Linked DNA regions of Homo sapiens: region 2 is linked to region 1. Evidence: promoter capture Hi-C in 16 types of primary human blood cells and fetal thymus (Javierre and others, 2016). All regions are on one chromosome and are shown on one strand. Each heading gives the region's core, a stretch centred on a gene start or on the middle of the fragment in contact. The rest is flanking DNA. Distances are from core to core; before and after follow the strand shown. Region 1 holds the start of RANBP9 (RAN binding protein 9). Region 2 overlaps PHACTR1 (phosphatase and actin regulator 1).

Region 1 (2,700 bases), core at 103-2,602:
AACCCGGGAGGCGGAAGTTGTAGTGAGCTGAGACCACACAACTGCACTCCAGCCTGGGCGACAAAACAATAATAATAATAATAATAAAAGTACAACAGAACATCTAGTTGTCTGGGTAACTGAGGGAGAAATTAGGCCGAATGACTCTGTTATTTGTTCTGGCCAGATAATCTTGGCCTTAAATTAAATCACCTTTGGCCTACCTTCTTCAAAACGAAATAATTTTCTCTTCGGCAAAACATTTCTTATTTGACCAAATGATTACCATCATATCTTTGGAAGCAAACAAAATATCAGAATTTACATCACACAATTTACATATGCAAAGCCTGATTTTGCCAGCTAGGGAGGGATAAGCTAAACAAAGGGAAGTGGTGAAAACAAAGTAGTAATGTTATGATGGGTCAGAGAGCAACACTTGGCAAGTTGTGCCAAATTAGTCGACGAAGCATTCTATTGGGAATTGCAAAGTAGGAAGTCCTATTTTTGACTCTGCTGATCTCGGTAAATATTTCCTTGTTTTAAAAATGGGCATAATTTTCTGTTACCTAAGAACCCTGTTATGAAAATTAACGAGTCTATAAAATGTTCTGACGTCTCTAGAAGCCCTTCCTAAACACACACTATAATCTTGTATTCATACAGTGCCTGCTCCTGCTTTTTGAAGATATGCCGGTCTTTATTAATGACATCTTCTACCACTGTTAAGTTCACTGTGAGTCCTCGTAAAATTAATTAATGAAACAGTCACTATTCTAAGTGGGAGACTGCCTTCAGAAGTGGTTTCTACTGCCCATATGGTCAATGCTACGGAATTAAACACTGAAGTACCAAAGGCAATGCGTTCCTCTTTGGAGGGAGGCGGCAAACGGGAACGGGACTGAGGCGAGAGCTAGCAGCACTGCGCGGGGAGCCTGAGCCGCTCCGCACGCCCCGGGCCGACGGGTCCTAGAGCGCCCCGGGGCCTGGGCTCGCGGCGGCCCCAGCGGGGCTCGATTACTCTCGCCTGGACGAGAAGCGGCGCCTCGGCTCCGAGGAGCCCTACGGTGGGGAGGTGGGGCGACGACAACAAAAAGAAGTCAAGTGGGAGGGGATTCGCCGGCGAGGGGGGCGACGGCGGCCGCCAAGGGAGAGGAGGCGGACACCTCCGAAGGGACCTGCGGCGCCGGGAGCCCAGCGATCCTGCCCACGAGCGACTGGCGGGCCCGGGAGGACGCCTCGCGGCGCACAGCCGGGAGCCCCGCGGCCCGCCCCCTCGCACCGCTCGCGCCTCTCTCGCGCCTCCGTCCCGCCCCCTCGCCTAGCGCCGCCCGCGCGCAGCGTCTCGCGCCGGCCCGGCCCGCCCGCCGGGAAACAGCCGCGAGAGCAGCGGCCGCGGCGGCCGCCAGCGCGCCTTCCCCTCCCGCGCTCCCGCGTCGCCCCCGCCCTCGGCGCCTCGTCCCCGGGCCGCGCGCCCGCGCTCCGGCCAACGTTCTCTCCCGGCCTCCCGGGCCCGCCGCCTACTCCCGCGTCTCCGAGCTCCTCAACCGCCGCGGTCTCCCTGGGCGCGCGGCCCGCCGCCTGCTTCCGGGGCGGGCGGACTGGGCGCCTGGTGCCGGCGGCCGCAGCGACAGCGCCCCCGGGAAGCAGAGGAGGAAGGAGAGAAGAGGTGGAGGTGGCCGCAGGCTGAGTCGCGGCCGGGATGTCCGGGCAGCCGCCGCCGCCGCCGCCGCAGCAGCAGCAACAGCAGCAGCAGCTGTCGCCGCCACCGCCGGCGGCCTTGGCCCCAGTCTCCGGAGTCGTCCTGCCGGCGCCCCCGGCCGTCAGCGCCGGCTCTTCTCCGGCCGGCTCGCCCGGCGGCGGTGCGGGCGGCGAAGGCTTAGGGGCCGCGGCGGCCGCCCTGCTCCTCCACCCTCCGCCGCCGCCGCCCCCGGCCACCGCGGCCCCGCCGCCCCCGCCGCCGCCCCCGCCTCCCCCTGCCTCAGCGGCTGCCCCCGCCAGCGGGCCGCCCGCTCCCCCGGGCCTTGCAGCGGGCCCCGGCCCGGCTGGAGGAGCCCCGACCCCAGCTCTGGTGGCGGGCAGCAGCGCCGCGGCCCCCTTCCCTCACGGGGACTCGGCCCTGAACGAGCAGGAGAAGGAGTTGCAGCGGCGGCTGAAGCGTCTCTACCCGGCCGTGGACGAACAAGAGACGCCGCTGCCTCGGTCCTGGAGCCCGAAGGACAAGTTCAGCTACATCGGCCTCTCTCAGAACAACCTGCGGGTGCACTACAAAGGTACTGGGCGTGTGTCCTGCGGTGGGAGTGGGGCACTGACCCGACGTGGCCGGCCGCCGCTGCGCCGCTCTCGACCCGCCCCCGACCCCCGCCCTCGCGGGCTCTGCCCTCGGAGGCCACTCGCCGCCTGTTGTGCTGCTCCGGGTGGGCGCGGGGGTCGCGGTGAAGGGTCCGAGGGTGAGGGGCGAGATTCTTGGAAAAGGAAGGTGAGTAGAATGCCCCAGGGTAGAAAGGAGCTGGTAATCCTAGACCAGGAGCAGGACACCTTGAGGGAATCCGGGATGACAGGACAGAACTGGCTTTCTGATTTCCCTGGGAGATAAATCTTGGGGCTTGGGTAGAGGAATCCATGGACTCGGAGTTGGGTTACATTGTTCTCCAGGTGGTGGGTCAGGCGTTCTCCTCTTACAAGGGGGGAAGAGAGGCACGATTCTGAGGTATGATTTCT
Region 2 (2,700 bases), core at 63-2,562, 770 kb after region 1:
GACTCTGTCACTTACTACGTATTTAAATTGTTTAGACCTTTCTGAGCCTCACTTTTCCTTAGGGTGATTGTGAGGATTAAATAATTCACGGAAGTCTACTGCTTACCACAGCCCCTGGCAAGATCTACCATTTCTTTCCCCAAAGGTCATATAATTTATAGCCACTAGAGTCAGGATGCAAACCCAGGAGCGTCTGGCTCCCACATTTATGCTTTCAAAGAAATGTTCTAAATATTTCCTTAAAGTCTCACTACTTTTGATTTAGTTTTTTCCTCCCAAGTCACTAATTCATCATCCATTCAAAAATAAGAATGTTGTTTTTTCAGATGTTTTTCCCATGTCTTCTTTATTTCTCATTGAACCCTCTGCAGTAAACCACTTCCCTCTACATTAACTGATGTGAAAATCATGAGGCAACTGTTGTCATCACAGAAAAAAAAAAAAAAAGCAGAATAGTTATGTTTCTTCAGGTTATACTTGGGAAGCCAGATAAAGTGCTGGGTTATGCAGACCATCCTGTCTCAACAGTGCAGTAGAAAGAGGCATAGTAAGCATCTAGCAGAAAGAACTTGGCTTGCCACGTGGTAATTTATGGGTATTCCTTTTTTTAATCTAGAAGTTGGAATGTTACAAAATTATATTAATGATCTAGGGGACCTCCACTAAAAATCCAGCACCATCGGCCGGGCATACCTCACGCCTGTAATCCCAGCACTTTCGGAGGCCGAGGCGGGTGGATCACGACATCAGGAGTTTGAGACCAGGCTGACCAACATGGTGAAACCCCATCTCTACTAAAAATACAAAAATTAGTCAGCCGTGGTGGTGGGTGCCTTTAATCCCATCTACTTAGGAGGCTGAGGCAGGAGAATTGCTTGGACCGGGGAGGTGGAGGTTGCAGTGAGCCGAGATTGTGCCACTGCACTCCAGCCTGAGCGACAGAGCAAGACTCCATCTCAAAAAAAAAAAAAAAAAAAAAAAAATCCAGCACCATCATTGCACTGTATGTGTAATGCTTCTTTTGACTCTGAGCCCTCTACCATATTGGACACCACACTGCAATTCTTTTCTCTCTTTCTGCAATACCACTTACTCTAAGCTACTTTTTCATTTGTTTGCTTCAACTGTACTTCTTATTTCTTTGCTTTTTCTCCATTTATCTGCTTCTTAAATGTTGAGTTCTCTCTCAAGCCATTTTTTGGCCTTACTTTTCCCTGGATGATCTCACTTCTGATCTTTTAATCTATTTTTCTAGAGCCTTCTCTTCTACACCACTTGCAATTTTCCCAATTCACATCCTTACCCTCTCTTACCAGGTCTTCTGCAATAATCTAACTGGTTTCCCATTTGCAAATCGCTCATATCTCGGAGCTTTGTTTTTCACACCGCCACCAGAATTGGCTTCCTAAAACCAGGTTAGTACATGACACCCTTTCTCAAAGGTTAATATCACTCCCTTGACAGCATAATGTTCAAGTTGTTTAGCATGGCACCCAACTTCCTTCACTACATTCCTGCTCATTTTTCACTCCATCCCTCCCTGATGCCACATTTTCTGCTATTATAGTCTACTTAGTATTCTACACACTTTTCATCTTTCCCTACCCACCTTCTCACTGGACAAGGCATTTCTTTATTCTTTATCTTTTGTGGCATTTCCCAATATATGCTCCTCAGAATACTGGTCTTGTGAGATGTCTACTGAAGAAAAGAAATCTGGTAATCTGGTGTAATACTGTATACTAGATCCACTTCCACCCCCGCCTTGGAGGTTTCATGAACTTTAGCATTTATTTATTTATTTATTTATTTATTTATTTATTTTTGAGACAGAGTCTTGCTCTGTTACCCAGGCTGGAGTGCGGTGGCACGATCTTGGCCACTGCAACCTCCACCTCCTGGGTTCAAGCAGTTCTCCTGCCTCAACCTCCTGAGTAGCTGGGACTCCAGGCACCCACCACTACGCCTGGGTAATTTTTGTATTTTTAGTAAAGTTGGGGTTTTGTCATGTTGGCTCGGCTGGTCTCGAACTCCTGACCTCAGGTGATCTGCCTGCCTCCGCCTCCCAAAATGCTGGGATTACAGTCATGAGCCACTGTACCCAGCTGAACTTCAGCATTTAAAATGCTCTGAGAAGTCCTGCAGCAGGTAAATCAGGTTGGCTTTGCTACCCAGTGTTTCCTAAACACCAGATTCCTCTTTTTCTAGAAACCCGTAAGAATTAGCATTTAATGACCGTACACTGGGAATCCCTGATTTATTCAAATCTTCTTCACTCATTCACATTTTATTTCATCTGTCCTTATTCATGGACTTGGAAAATATTTATTTAGCACCATGCCAGGCACTGGAGAATGTACTGAGAAAATATTCTCGACAGCAAGATGAACATAATTCCTGCTTTCATGAAACTTACAGTTTTGACTGAACAGTGGATAAGTAAACATGCAATAACCACAAAATGCAGTAAGAGCTATCATAGGGGAAACAGAGACAGTTGTGGCAGCGCATAGCAGAAAGACAATGAATCTGGGGGAGTGATTAGGGAGGGCTTTCTGGAGGAAGTGGTTTTATATGGGGACCTAAAAGAGAAGTAGGAGTTAGTCAGATGGGAATAAAGGAGGCAAAAGGGGAAGAATGTAGTCAGGGGCAACTGCTCGTATGAAGCTGCTAAAACCAGAGAGAGCATGGCATGTCTGA

Evidence for each region. Contacts are between HindIII fragments. The CHiCAGO score rates a contact against its expected background, and 5 or more counts as called.
Region 2: a contact is called between a fragment that was not itself captured here and the fragment with the promoter of RANBP9 in region 1, in 1 of 17 cell types (monocytes). The highest score is 5.3, in monocytes.

Annotation. Positions count from the first base shown.
Region 1 is chr6:13,710,487-13,713,186 of GRCh38, reverse strand. RANBP9 (RAN binding protein 9) reads left to right here and starts at 1,352. Exons shown (of 14, transcript NM_005493.3): 1 at 1,352-2,252. The coding sequence starts at 1,682. It overlaps LOC124901264 (a long non-coding RNA gene), which reads left to right and starts at 433. Exons shown (of 2, transcript XR_007059462.1): 1 at 433-504; 2 at 646-835. RefSeq lists silencers at 848-1,617, 1,778-1,897, 1,978-2,027, 2,288-2,407. The HindIII fragment of the contact is 8,985 bases long and covers 1-2,700 here.
Region 2 is chr6:12,945,089-12,947,788 of GRCh38, reverse strand. All of the region lies in intron 4 of PHACTR1 (phosphatase and actin regulator 1), which reads right to left. Among named protein-coding and RNA genes, the nearest start is that of PHACTR1, 230 kb to the right of the region's middle. The HindIII fragment of the contact is 4,385 bases long and covers 1-2,700 here.